4 separate regions of the Homo sapiens genome follow, and all the other regions are linked to region 4. Evidence: promoter capture Hi-C in 16 types of primary human blood cells and fetal thymus (Javierre and others, 2016). All regions are on one chromosome and are shown on one strand. Each heading gives the region's core, a stretch centred on a gene start or on the middle of the fragment in contact. The rest is flanking DNA. Distances are from core to core; before and after follow the strand shown.

Region 1 (3,177 bases), core at 587-3,086, about 21 Mb before region 4:
TTATAGGTGTGTCTGGTGGGGGATGGTAGGAAACAGGTAAGAAGAATAAGGGAGCTCTTTTAGGCTTGTGGCTTTAAGTATCATCTCTAAATGGATGACTCCTAAATTGTTATTTTCTGGTCAGACTTCTTTCCTGAGCACCAGATTTTTATATGACATCTCTTCAATATCTAAAAGGCAACATAAATATTAACATATCCACAAGGAGTTCTCAATTCCACATCCCTCGTAAGAACAGTCTTCCCTAGAGTTCCCCCACTTCAATAAATAAAATCACCATTTAACTATGTATTTATATCCCAAATCCTTTGATTTCTTCCTTTTCTTCTTCACTTAATCCATCACCAAAGTCTTGTCAATTATACTGACGTAAAAGGTCTCAAATTCATCAATTTCTTTTCATCTCCACCATTAAATTACTACCTTAGGCGAAGCCACTTTCGTTTTTAAAAAAATTTATTTACTTTAGAGATAGGGTCTCTCTGTCACCCAGGCTGGAGTGCAGTGGTGCCATCATAGCTCACTGCAGCCTCGGACTTTTCGGCTCAAGTAGTCCTTCTGCCTCAGCCTTCGAAGTAACTGGGACCTCAGGCGAACACCACCGCGCCCAGCTAATTTTTTATTTTTTGTAGAGATGGAGTCTCACTTTATTGCCTAGGCTGGAATCGAACTCCTGGCCTCAAGCGATCCTCCAGCCCCAGCCTCCCAAAGCGTTGGGATTACAGGCATGAGCCACTGTGTCTGGCTTGAAGCAACCTTTGTCATACCCTAGTCTCCTTGCTTTCATTTTTTCCCTCCAAAAGTCCTTCACACAGCAACTAGACAACTTTTCACAAACATAGATCATTAAAAGGCCTAAAAAACACTTCCTACAAGATTCTGCATGACCTCGCCCTGGCAAGCATATCTAATTTCATTACCTGTCTTACATTGTCACTTTGATGACCCTTATATTCATTCTCTCATATCTTCAACTCTTTGTACTTTACTGTTCCTACTGCCTGGATTGCTTTTTCCTCAGCTCCTCAGTGACTGGCTTATTCTTATCTTTTAGATCTCAACTCAAACATCTTCTGTTCAGAGAAACCTTCCCTGAGTAACCCTATCTGAAGTGTCCTTCATCATCTCTGGTCTTTCTTTCATAGTATGATTATATAGTGTAATTGTTAACTTATTTGTTCACTTGTTTACTGTGTCTCCCCCATCAGTGTTCCAGGAGAGGTGGGACATTTTTTCTGGTTAACCAAATCCTCAATAATTACCACAATGCCTGGCACACTGTAAGCACACTGTTATTTCTCCAACAAAAAACTCAATGAATGAATCTAGGATACTTCCGAAATTATGACTTAGGCAGAAGTAGAGCAAATGTAAAGAAAAGCCTACACAGGAAACGCAGATGGAAGAGTAACGCGCACATGGATGAGAAGGACGCTTAAACTTGGAGTCAGCTTCGCCAAATCCCGGGCCGCCCCCCACCCCAAGTCCGGAGCTGACAGCTGACAGCTGACAGCATGACGCGACGTCCTGCATTGGTAGGCACGAAGGACGGGACACATCGACCCCATGGGCTGAGGTGACGGAGTCCTGTGCTCACAACCCGGCCGGGGCAGCGGGCAGTAAACCCCTGCTAGACACGCGTGAGAACCTATGTTGGAAAATCGGGGTTCCGGAAGCCTCACATCCAGAGCGGCACGAGGCAACAGACCCGCTGCGTACGCGTTTTCTAAGTGTCCGAAAATGGGCAAAATTCCCTGCGCAAACCCCGGGTGTAAGAACAACCGGAGGAGACTCACATCATCCGACTGCATGGTGTCCGCGGCTCAGCGTGCAACTTCCGGTCGGATCGCGGGCGCAGACATGCTCCTTCCGGGAAACCAGTTCCGGAACGCGCAGCCTCACCTATCTCGAGAAACGCTGAGACTCTCGGTGTTGCGAAGCGTCCCCTGGCAGTCTCGTCGCCGCGCGCGCGCCCCCGCGTCTTCACCACGCTGGCGTCTGCGCGCGCCCGTCCGCAATGCTGGGCTTGTTCATGGGCGCAGCCTGGAGCTGGGAACCCTGTTGGGACCCAGTGCGATCCGCGGGAGGCAGGACGCGCGCAGTCTGCCGAATCCTGGAGCGCGGGGACCGCGGGGGTCGGGCGTGCTTCCCTAGCGCCCTGTTTGTGACCGTTCATGAGGATGGGACCCCTCCCTGTCGGGCCTCCCCTCTGCTGGGAGGAGGCTGGGGAAAGCTGCAGGCGGCGCGGCGGGGCTGGGTCCCCGCTCCTCCGAGTCCCCCGGCCCCAGCTCGCAGCCAGGCCCCGGCCCTGCCCCTCAGACCCTGACTTAGCCACTCCCCACGCCCACGTTGGGTGCGGCACCGGGTCCTGACTTTAGAAACTCAGAACTTGAATTCCTCCTGCTTTGAGAAACCACTGACCAAATGGAAAGAGCATTCCAATAATAATAAACACCTGTGTCTTCCTCATTGCCTATTTGAGACAACAAACAAAGTTGATAAGGGAGGGAAAATACCAAGAAGAAAAGTAGAGGTCTAATAACCCACAAAAACAAATCTGGAAGCCTAACAGCTCTTTTCCGCCAGGGGAAAAAGAAAATCTTTACTAGTTTGTATCGTATTATAGAAGAAAGACTGTCGGCCGGGCCGGGCGCGGTGGCTCTCGCCTGTACCTCAGCACTTTGGGCGGCCTAGGCGGGCGAGTTCCAGACCAGCCTGGCCAACATAGTGAAATCCCGTCTCTACTAAAAATACAAAAATTAGTCGGGCGTGGTAGCAGGTGCCTGTAATCCCAGCTACTTGGGAGGCTGAGGCAGGAGAATCGCTTGAACCCGGGAGGCGGAGGTTGCAGTGAGCCGAGATCATGCTGTGGCCCTCCAGCCTGGGTGACAACCAAAACTACCTCTCAAAAAAAAAAAAAGAAAAAGAAAAAAGAAAAGGAAAGAAAGACTGTCAAGAGGCATTTGAACCAGAGCAACCCCATCTTGAATAGTGGCTGGGTAAAATAAGGCTGAGATCTGCTAGGCTGCATTCCCGAGGGTCAGGCCATCTAAATCACAGGATGAGGTCAGCACAAAATACAGGTCATAAGGATGTTGCTGATAAAACAGATTGCAGTAAAGAAGCCAGTCAAGACCCACAAAACCAAGATGGCAATGAGTTTGACCTCTGGTCGTC
Region 2 (3,568 bases), core at 282-2,781, about 21 Mb before region 4:
ACTTCTCGAACTCCAGTGATTCTCCCACCTCAGCCACCAGAGTAGCTGGGACCGCAGGTGCGCACCACCAGGCCCAGCTAATTTTTGTATTTTTTTTACAGGTGGCTTCACCATGTTGCCCAGGATGGTCTCAAACTCTTGAGCTCAAGCAATCTGCCCGCCTCAGCCTCCCGAAGTTTTGAGATTATAGGAGTGAGTCTAGACTGAAACATTTTGAATGCCACACTCTAGTTTACAGAACTTTATTCAGTAAACACTGGAGACCAACAAACGTTATCAAGCAAAGAAATGTTCAGATTTACATTTTACAGAGATAATTGTGACCAGAAGGGATGGACTTGAGAGTGAAATCAGAGCACTGTTTCTTTCAATAGCCGCATGAGAATTTGAGGGGTGGGGAAGACAAGGCACATTAAAATGAAAATTTCTGGGTCCACCCTTTATTGAATCAGAATCTCTGGGTTCAAGGCCTGGGAATCTGCATGTTACATCTCAAACATAGGAGTGATTCTTGTAGGCTCTGAAGTCTGAGCTATAGACTAGAATCAGAATGGCCAGTTAGGAAGCTTTTGCAATTATCCAATTAAGAAATGAAATGTCCTGGGTGCCATGGCTCATGCCTGTAATCCCAGCAATCTGGGAGGCTCAGGCGGGAGGATCACTTGAGTCCAGGAGTTCGAGACCAGCCTGAGCAACATAGTGAGGCCACTCATCTATACAAAACAATTAAAAAGTAGCTGGGCTTGGTGGCAGGCACCTGTGGTCCCAGTTTCTTGGGAGGCTAAGGTGGCAGGACTGCTTGGGCCCAGAAGTTGGAGGCTGCAGTAAGCTATTATTGCACCGCTGCACTCCAGCTGAGTGACAGAGCAAGACTCTAACTCAAAAAAGAAAAAGAGGGCCGGGAGCGGTGGCTCACGCCTATAATCCCAGCACTTTGGAAGGCTGAAGCAGGAGGATCACTTGAGGCCAGGAGTTCGAGAACAGCCTGTCCAACATGGCGAAACCCCGTCGCTATTAAAAATACAAAAATTATCTGGGCATGGTGGTAAGCGCCTGTAATCCCAGCTACTCAGGAGGCTGAGGCAGGAGAATCACCTGAACCCGAGAGGCAGAGGTTGCAGTGAGCTGAGATCGCGCCGCTGCACTCCAGCCTTGGCGATAGAGGCAGACTCTGCCTCCAAATACATAAGTAAATAAATAACAGATCTGTAGGCGGAAAACAATGTGGCAGTAATTGTTCCTTTGCCTTGGTGTCCCTGGGCAAAAGGCAGGCCCCCACTCCGGGGCATCGCTCGTCGCCGCTCCATTCTCTGCAGACCGAAGTTTCCCCAGGCCTGGGAAGACTAAGTGGGAGGCGCCCACCGTGCGAAGATCCTCCCGGCTTCCAGGGAAGGGAGGCTGGGCCTGCAAATAATAGCCGGGGGCAGGAGAAAGGCTCCGATTGGTCGGAGGGAGGGTGACGAACAAGGGGCGGAGTTTTCCTGGGGACTGGTGGGGGAAGTAAAAGGGAGGGGGTGTGCACCGCCGGGTGTCAGTTTCGGAACCCCAGCCAGCTCACCTCTGCGCCGCTGAACCCGATCCGAGCCTCCGGCAAAGGTTTTTCCCTCCTCCCCCGGCCGAGGGCTTCTGCAGCCCGGGCACCCCCGCCCCGCGGCGCCCCACATTCCCCCAGCCCGGGGCCCTTGGCGCGTGCGCTCCGTGCGGCTGTGCTCCGCGGGACTTTGTTTGTTTCCTCCTCGTCCCTCTTTGTTGGGCTGAACACCAGCCTCGTCAAAGCCCCCCACTCCGGAGGGAGTTCGGCTTCTCCAGCAGGGCGGCTGCAGCGCGCTGCCCCGACCCCGCCTGCGGCCCCTCACGCCGCTAGTGCTCCCACCCCGCCCTCCTGGCACCCCGCCTGCGTCCGTTCGCCCGAGGAAGCCAACCGCGACTTCATTGATGCACCCATTCCAGTGGTGTAACGGTGAGTCCCCGGGGCGAGGGCCGAGCCTACGTGGGGCTGGTGGGAGCCGCGGCGCGGGGTGCGAGGTCGGACAGCAGCGCGCTGGTCCTCCCTCGGGAACCAAGTTTCTCCTGAAATGGGACAGTCGAGAAGGCGTCTTGGCGCCCCACTCTGCTCTGCACAGCGCGGAATTTGAAACTATCCAGGTTTCACTCCAGAGCCTGGAAGGGGCCTCCGGACTGGCGGCGGGCCGGGGGCGTGGGAGCCGAGGGGTTCCCGGCCTTTGTGTGGCGGCCCGGCTCTTCTACCCCCTTCCCCTGCCTTTGTGCGCTCAAACTCTGTTCTTTGTTGTGGTTGTTGGAGGAGAATTAAATCCGCACTCGGGCTGGGATCTCCTAGAGGGAGCTCAAGTTCCCGGCCTGAAACTTTGCAGGCTATTGTAAATATGTATACCGTGCAGCGTGCGGGACTGGGCGCGGGGGTAGCTTCCTCTGGCTTTGTTGGTTTCCCACGGGCTGCTGGCGTGGCTTGGGTGCTTGCGGAAGACTGGATTAAAGAGTCGCTTTCGGCCAGGCGCGGTGGCTCACGCCTGTAATCCCAGCACTTTGGGAGGCCGAGGCGGGCGGATCACCTGAAGTCGGGAGTTCGAGACCAGCCTAACCAACATGGAGAAACTCCGTCTCTACTAAAAATACAAAATTAGCCGGGAGTGGTGGCGCATGCCTGTAAGCCCAGCTACTTGGGAGGCTGAGGCAGGAGAATCGCTTGAACCCAGGAGGCGGAGATTGCAGTGAGCCTAGATCGTGCCATTACACTCCAGCCTGGGCAACAAGAGCGAAACTCCATCTAAAAAAAAGCCGTTTTCCTGAGTTGATAAACCCTCGCAGAGAGCTCCGCGCCCGGCTGTCCCTGGGGTGCGAGGCTGGCCTGGCGGGAGCCGTGTTTCTGGCCACAAGGCCAGATTAGGGTGTCTGCTCCTGAGCCCAAGTGAAGGCCACACCTCCAGACGCGACAACCCCTCGCCCCATTTCTCCCCAGGCCTGGGTGATGCTTCTAAGTTAGTTCATTTCACCTGAGGCTTTTTGGAGGTTCAGGTGATACTGGGTTAGGCTGGAGTCTGATTCCTCAGCGAGCTACCTGAAAGGTAGGTGTTTCTGAGCGGGACACTTCAAAACCTTGGATACTAATCGCCCCCCACCCCACCCGCTCCAGTCCTCCTGGGGTCCTAGTCTTGACCGCGTTGTTCCGATGCTTGGAGAGTTTCTGGGAGAGAGAGATGGGAAGCAGCTGGCCTTATCTCTCAGTATGGCAAGCGAGCTAGTTACAGGGGGAAAAAAATCATTCTTTAGAGTAGACTCCTGCCAGATCTTGGATTAATTATGTCAAGAGGCTTTGTTTTGAGGCAGGGTTTGGGTAGCATGTATACCCCACATCCCCCCACCCCGCCTTCCTCCTTTTGCTGGTCGGATCTCATTTCCTGAAAATGAACCAAGCCGTGTGTGATAGGCGGTTTTGTGGGAGAGGGGGCAGAGGATGGGGGTTGAGGAAGGCCCTTGCACCCTAGCATCTGGGAAAGATTCCCGTTGGCTGGGAAAGAGAAGCAGTTCCCAGATCCCCTGGTCTTTCTTG
Region 3 (3,510 bases), core at 419-2,918, about 21 Mb before region 4:
GTCCGAAGCTCCCGCCTGTGCAGTGGCACAAATGAAGTTTGCCTCCTCGGGCTCCTGCGAAACCGTGGAAGCTATGAGAGTCACAAGGTCCTAAATGGAAGCAGCTCCTCGGGAACTGAAGGCCAATCGGACGCAATTCTACCCTCCAGGAAAGCGCAGGAAGAGGGAACAAGCAATGCCGACGCGGCGTGGGGGACCCAACACAGGGCGGTCGCACAGGCGCGACCCTTCTCGCGCCTTCTCAAAACCCAAGCAAACACCACTGGTTCCTACACCCGCCGAGCCCGAGTCTGCAGCCTCCAGCTCCCCTGGCCCGTTCCGGGCGCCGCCTGCGACCCATGCCCAAGACAGCGCTCTGCTGTCCCTGCGCACCCGGCGCCGACACTGGCGGGGCGGGCCCAAGCCGGATCCGCCAACCCGACGACCCACCTCCCTCAGGGCTGCCCCAGACGCCAGCTGGGGGCTTCTACCTTGACGCTAGAATTTGAATTTTCAAACGCTTGTGGCTACAGGCTTTAAAACGCTAGCTCCAGAAACCAGCTAAAGTATTGCATTGAACAGAAAACCAAATACCGCATGCTCTCATTCATAAGTGGGAGCTAAACATTAGGAACACGTGGACATAAAAGTGGCAACAACAGACACTGTGGTCTACTAGAGGGGGCAATGAAAACGGGCTAAGCTGCACTCCAAATCCCAGCATCCCACAACATATCCAGGTAACAAACCTGCGCAGGTATCTCCCAAACCTAAAAAATTAAAGCCATTAAAAAGCTCTGCATTGGCCAGGCGCGGTGGCTCACGCCTGTAATCCCAGCCCTTTGGGAGGCCGAGGCGGGCGCATCACGAGGTCAAGAGATCGAGACCATCCTTGCCAATATTTATACAAAAATTAGCTGGGCGTGGTGGCGCGCGCCTATAGTCCCAGCTACTCGGGAGGCTGAGGTAGGACAATCTCTCGAAAACCGGAGGTGGGGGTTGCAGTGAGCCGAGATCGCAACACTGCAACTCCAGCCTGGCGACAACGCGAGACTCCGACTCACAAAAGAACAAACACAAAAACACATTACACAGTTGGACAACGGAAAAGCACCCGTGCGTGTAGCATACAGCCAGAAAAAAGGGCACCCGAAAACGGTAAACACAAAGCCATGAAACTAGGCCACCTGTTATCATAAGTAACAAGCCCACAAATACAAGTGTTAAATCGATCCTTGAAGTTCAGGTCAGACGGGTAATGTGCCCACGTCGTAACAAGGTTCAAGGGTGGCACATCTCACACAAGCGTATGAACACCCAATCATCACGCTCATGAACTACAAAAGGATCATCTTATAGTTGACATTAAGGAGTGCCAAGTATGTGCCACTAATTTACACATAGGGTGACTACCGTAATGCGATACATCCATTCTTCACGTATAAAATCCTGGATATTTTCAAAGTCCCACTGAGATTCTGTGATTATTCTTTTGTTTCTACCTTAGCAAAGGAAAACAGAAACACAATTAGCGAGCGGATTATTATATATGCAAATTTATTCTCTATAGTTCCACCTCTCCGTCATTTTCCCGAGCCTGGATCTTTATTGCTTTACGACCATACGTCGTGAAATAAGAAGGTGTTGCGGCAGTACTGGCGGAAGCTAGCCTTGCGTTTTGCGGCAGCAATATGAGCTAGGTCCGGATCCTGTTAGACACCGGCGGGCGCGAGCCGTTGCAGGTACCTGGGGGTGGTTAAGTTGGTGACATGGCTCAGAAGTTTATTTCTTTAAATTTTTAAGTTTTTTTTCTTTTTAGTCTTCAGAAAGGCAACAGTAGTCTTTTAACGTCACTGTTAAAAGTGTAAGACTCTTTTACTCCCTGAGAGTCCCCTTTCCCTTTCTTGCGTCCTTTCCTCTTTATTCTTTTTTTTTTTTTTTTTTTTACTGAGACGGAGTCTCACTCTGTCGCCCAGGCTGGAGTGCAGTGGCGCGATCTCGGCTCACTGCAAACTCCGCCTCCCGGGTTCACCCTTTCTCTTTATTCTTATCCCGGTCAGACTCGCCCCCTCCTCCAAGACATCTCTCTGTTTTATTTTATTTGATTTTAGTTCTCTTTGGGTGATCGCTCCTTCCCTCTTCAACGGATCCCTCCCCGCCTCCATCCTCGTTCTGTGGGAGAGACCAGCCTTCTGGTGCTGCAGTCAGGAATGGAGCTTGACAGCGCTCTGGAAGCCCCATCGCAGGAAGACTCTAATTTGTCCGAGGAGTTGTCTCACTCCGCCTTTGGACAGGCCTTCTCCAAGATTTTACACTGTCTTGCCCGCCCGGAGGCACGACGAGGCAATGTAAAAGATGCAGTTCTTAAAGACCTCGGTGATCTAATAGAAGCCACAGAATTTGATAGGTTATTTGAGGGGACTGGTGCACGGCTCCGCGGAATGCCGGAGACACTGGGGCAGGTAGCAAAAGCCCTGGAGAAGTATGCAGCCCCCTCCAAGGAGGAGGAAGGTGGAGGTGATGGGCACTCCGAAGCGGCCGAGAAAGCAGCCCAAGTTGGGTTACTGTTTCTTAAACTGTTAGGGAAAGTTGAGACTGCTAAGAATTCCCTGGTCGGCCCTGCATGGCAGACGGGCCTGCATCACTTGGCAGGACCCGTTTATATTTTTGCCATCACACACAGCTTGGAGCAACCATGGACCACTCCGAGATCTCGGGAAGTTGCTAGGGAGGTGCTCACCTCACTGCTTCAAGTTACTGAATGCGGTTCTGTGGCAGGATTCCTACATGGAGAAAATGAAGATGAGAAAGGGAGACTTTCGGTGATACTAGGGCTTCTCAAACCCGACTTGTATAAGTGAGTACTCCTGCCCTTTGCCACCGACTTGAGCCTCACAGTTTTTTATTTTTATTTTTTATTATTTATTTATTTTCGAGACAGAGTTTCACTCTTGTTGCCCAGGGTGGAGTGCAATGTTGCGATCTCAGCTCACTGCAACCTCCGCCTCCTGGGTTCAAGCGATTCTCCTGTGTCAGCCTTCGGAGTAGCTGGGATTACAGTTGCCCGTCACCACGCCTGGCTGATTTTTTGTATTTTTAGTAGAGACGGGGTTTCACCATGTTGGCCAGGCTGGTCTTGAACTCTTGACCTCAAGTGATCCACCCGCCTCGGGCTCCCAAAATGCTGGGATTACAGGCGTGAGCCACTGCGCCTGCCCTAGCTTAATTTTTTATAGCGTTATACCTCAAAGGAAGCTCAATTTCTTCAGCAGTAAAATAAGGGTGCTGTAACCACGGATCTCTTAAGGCCCAGAAACGTTGTGATTTGCTATAAATGACATAACTGGATAGTGGCAAATTGGAGGTCATAACTGAGATGTTCGGGCTCAGTTGTCCAATGCTCTTTCCAGCCCTTAGGACGACTGCCTAGGAAAATTGGAAATTCTGTCCCACTTACTTGGAGTTAATAATTACAAAATGTGGCCGGGCGAGGTGGCTCACTCCTGTAGTCCCAGCACTTTGGGAGGCCGA
Region 4 (3,572 bases), core at 549-3,048:
TAATAGAACCTGACTTTATATTTGAAAAGAAGTTTATGAGTGTTTATTAATTTACTATGCTCCTTGTAATAAACATGAACACATTGATTACATATTTACTGTTGTAAATTTTGCAACATGCCATTAAGAACAAGGATGCGTTACAAAAATGAATGTGCGTGTACACATGGATATTTGTTTGTGATTTCAAGTCTCAAGGGAGTATGTGGACATCAGCTGAAAGTCACTGTTCTGCTTGTTAAGGTAGTAATTTAGGGGTTAGGATTGGATTTAAGGTTATGCTCATGACTTAATCCCAATGCTTCCCATGCCAAATGCTTAGGAGGTGCTCCTTGGATCTAGCTGCAATTTGCTTCAGGTGCAATGTGAGTGATAAATGAACTTGTTTCTGTCTGCATCCTGTTGGAACAGGAGGCTTGGCTTTTTCTCAGGCACCTCTTTTTTATTCATTCCCTTTAGGGTAATATAACTCTGTCTTTTCTGACGTTACACGACTTGTTGATTGTGTAGTGAAAACACATGAACTCAAAACATTTTTTAGCCTTAATTGCCTGTTCCTTATAAAGAGAAATATTAAACGTTTACCAATTTCATACATAGCATGCTCAGGTGAACTTTCCAATTAGCAACTTCTTTTACTTTGAAAATCTCATATATTTCTATGAAATATTACATATTTTATTAAATATTACATATTAGTCTAACGTAGTAGTAGTGGAATAGACGTGATCTTAAAATCTGTATTAGCTGTGTGATTTTTGACAAATAACTTTCCCTGTGTTTCCAATCATTTGAAAAAGGACTAAAAGTCCTAAGTGACTTCCAACATTAGCGATCTAATACCCTATCATCAAATCTGTATTTTCAGCTGAGAGCTTTAAACTTGCTGCTGTGAAGTTTAAGGGAAATAGCACCCATTATATATCAACCCGATCATTTTCTTCTGTCAGCAAAACTGCAGAGCCAGCTTGGGTTGTAGTAATACGGTGACCGCCATGTGAAACATGTTTCTTGGTGTTTTCTTTTAAAACTGCCAAATATAGACCTTAACCAGCTGTAAGGCAGTGCTTGAGGTGTGGAGACACCTGAGGAAGCTGTGGGCTTTCTCCCTCGAGGTGGGCCCACGATGAGTTTTAAGCAAGACGGGCAAGCAGTCACCTGGCACCAGGAAAAACTCCTTGCCCTCTGGAGGGAGTCGCCCCAGGAACGTGGGTTTTTTGTTCATATTTAAAGTTGAGTCCTCTAGAACCGAAGAGTCCCAGTCATCTGCCGAAGGTGCGCTCCCAGGCCCCCTGCTTGGGCGCGCCCACCTGGAACATGGGCGTAGAGCTATGAAAATGCAGACCCGCACAAGCGCGAGGCCACGCGGGGAGACCCCCGCCCGCCAGGAGTTGGGGCAGGTCCGGCCTGGGCGGGGGCGTCGGGGGAGGGGTGGTGACCCGGAGTCCCGCGCGGCAGGGGAGCGTCCCCCAACCCCCGGCAGGGGCGAGGGCCACCGCAGGTGGCGGCGTTGGCAGACAGGCAAGCGGGGACTGAAGCTCCGGGGTCCTTCCGGCTTTGTTCCGTCACGAGCCGAGCCCTCCTTTCCGGAGAAGCCAATTAGATCTCCGACGGAGGAATCATCCGACCTGCGTCCCCCACCCGGAGGGGGCTCGGAAGGGGCGGGGCCCAGCGCTTGGCTCCTCGGGAGCGCGGCCGCGGGCGGCGTGGGGGAGTCCCGGGCGCCGTCGCCGAGCCCGGCCCCGCCCTCGCCAGGCCCCGCCCTCGGGGCTTCCCGGGCGCGCGCAGCCCCGCCGTGTCCGCGCGCCACGCCCCCCTGCTCGCGGGCCGCGTGCGGAGCCGCGCGCCCGGGAGGCTCCGGGACCGTGGCGGCGGGCGGCGGCGGCGCAGCCCTCCGCGGGCCATGTCCTCTCCGGCGGTGGCGAGGACCTCCCCAGGAGGGAGTCGGGAGATGGCCCCAGCGCCGCAGGGCCGAGGCCGGTTCTGGGAAGTGGGCGGCGGCAGCGGCCATCGGCTGGAGCGCGCGGCCGCGGAGTCGGAGCGCTGGGAGCTGCTGCTCCGCCGCGGGGAGCTGCTGGCGCTGGGCGGCCACCTGAAGGGCGCGCTGGAGGCGTTCGCGGCGGCGCTGCGCCGCGGGGCCCCGGCCAGGCCCGAGTGCCTGGGCGCCCTGGTGGACTGCCTGGTGTTCAACTACCGGCTCCGCCACGGGCTGGGCTGGAGCGCGGCCCCGGTTGCAGGCGCTGACGGCGGCGCCGGCGGGCTCCTCAGATGCCTGGGCTGCCGGGGCTTCCTGAGCGAGCCGGTGACCGTGCCCTGTGGCCACAGCTACTGCCGCCGCTGCCTGCGGAGGGAACTCCGCGCCCGCTGCCGCCTCTGCCGGGACCGGCTGCCGCCCGCCACCGCCAGTGCCACTGATGCTGAAGGGACCGCCCCGCGGCCGCCGCCTCTGGCCGCCGCCATCGCCGCTTCAGACTTCAGAACCAGCGTCGTCCTCAACCACCTGGCCGAGAAGTGGTTTCCGGGCCAGCGCGAGCGGGCCCGGGCGGCCGGCAGGCTCGGGGAGCTACTGCACCAGGGGCGCTACCGGGAGGCCCTGGCCGCCGCCTGCGAGGCGCTGCGAGCAGGTGACCGCGCGGGGATGCGGCGGGGCCGGGCCGACCGCACCCTCCTGGCCCCGAGGGCCGGGGACCCGGAGCTTGTCTGCGCCCCGAGAGTCTCCTCTGCTTCCCCGGGGCCGCTGGGCCGCTGGCGTGTCGGGTCTCGGGGTGCTGGGGGGTGTGGGAGGGGGCGGCGCCCCGGGGTGCTTCGGTCATAATGGGGATCGCCCTGGGAGCCGACTGTGACGCGGCGCGGGGAGGGGCGCTCGGCGCGGGGTTCCCTCGGCCGCGGCCTGGCTGTCGGGCGCGCGCTCCCGGCGCGGAGTGGGTGACCTGGACCGAGGCCGCCCCGGCGCGGGATGGGTGGTAGCTGGGCTATCCCGAGCGGCCGCTCGCTTCCTGCCGCGCGCTTTCCGGGAATTGGCTCTCGGGCCGGGCCCGCCGCGGGGAAACGACTGCCGGGGCGGGGAGAGAATCCCCCGCGAGGGCAACTAGGCCGGGCAGGCGGCGTCTCCCTTCCTCACCCACAAAAGTCACCGGGACAATTGGGAACCGCGGGAGGGCAGAATTGCATAAGCTGGGGGCGGGGGGCGTTGTGTAACGGGTGACGTCCGGTGGGCGTGGCGGGAGCTCCGCGCGGGCGCCCGGCCCCGGGAGGCCCTGCAGGCCGCCGGGCTTGGGGCTTGGGGCGGAGCTGCCCAGGGTGGTCCCTTGCTACCTGGAAATGCCTGAACTGGTTCCTCTTGAAAGTTTCAGCTGGCCTGTTTCAGATCCTGCTTATTTCCTATGTACTTTGCAGTGCACCTAGCTTATGGTAAAGATGAGAGGGGCTGCCTGATCCATAGTTCTCTGCCACGCTTCTCCTGGCCTTTCCACTTAGGATCAGGCTGTGGGGAAAGGCCTTATAGGTCTTGAGTGCATTTCTTAGTCTCCAAGAAGCAGCCTCGGCCTCCTAACCTAGGTTAGCACTTTCTT

What was found. The method cuts DNA at HindIII sites, captures the fragments that hold promoters and counts their contacts. A CHiCAGO score of 5 or more calls a contact.
Region 1: a contact is called between the fragment with the promoter of MAK16 here and the fragment with the promoter of LONRF1 in region 4, in 5 of 17 cell types (non-activated CD4 T cells, total B cells, naive CD4 T cells and 2 more). The highest score is 17.3, in non-activated CD4 T cells.
Region 2: the fragment with the promoter of RNF122 here is called in contact with the fragment with the promoter of LONRF1 in region 4 in 4 of 17 cell types (naive CD8 T cells, non-activated CD4 T cells, total CD4 T cells and 1 more); the score reaches 9.7 in naive CD8 T cells.
Region 3: a contact is called between the fragment with the promoter of TTI2 here and the fragment with the promoter of LONRF1 in region 4, in 1 of 17 cell types (naive CD8 T cells). The highest score is 6.5, in naive CD8 T cells.

The regions. Positions count from the first base shown.
Region 1 is chr8:33,483,841-33,487,017 of GRCh38, reverse strand. It overlaps MAK16 (MAK16 homolog), which reads right to left and starts at 1,836. Exons shown (of 10, transcript NM_032509.4): 1 at 1,797-1,836. The coding sequence starts at 1,811. RefSeq lists silencers at 1,829-2,016, 2,227-2,416 and enhancers at 1,907-2,056, 2,044-2,680. The HindIII fragment of the contact is 3,746 bases long and covers 1-3,177 here.
Region 2 is chr8:33,565,091-33,568,658 of GRCh38, reverse strand. It overlaps RNF122 (ring finger protein 122), which reads left to right and starts at 1,531. Exons shown (of 6, transcript NM_024787.3): 1 at 1,531-1,960. The coding sequence starts at 1,936. RefSeq lists silencers at 1,647-1,766, 1,817-1,886, 1,917-1,966, 2,107-2,156. The HindIII fragment of the contact is 8,620 bases long and covers 569-3,568 here.
Region 3 is chr8:33,511,293-33,514,802 of GRCh38, reverse strand. TTI2 (TELO2 interacting protein 2) reads left to right here and starts at 1,668. Exons shown (of 8, transcript NM_001102401.4): 1 at 1,668-1,721; 2 at 2,091-2,836. The coding sequence starts at 2,190. It overlaps SNORD13 (small nucleolar RNA, C/D box 13), which reads right to left and starts at 1,328; the gene lies at 1,225-1,328. RefSeq lists a silencer at 1,017-1,066 and an enhancer at 1,497-1,636. The HindIII fragment of the contact is 19,476 bases long and covers 1-3,510 here.
Region 4 is chr8:12,753,752-12,757,323 of GRCh38, reverse strand. It overlaps LONRF1 (LON peptidase N-terminal domain and ring finger 1), which reads left to right and starts at 1,798. Exons shown (of 12, transcript NM_152271.5): 1 at 1,798-2,624. The coding sequence starts at 1,904. RefSeq lists silencers at 1,300-1,969, 2,050-2,389, 2,393-2,583, 2,480-3,019, 3,070-3,149 and 1 more and an enhancer at 1,505-2,324. The HindIII fragment of the contact is 11,195 bases long and covers 1-3,572 here.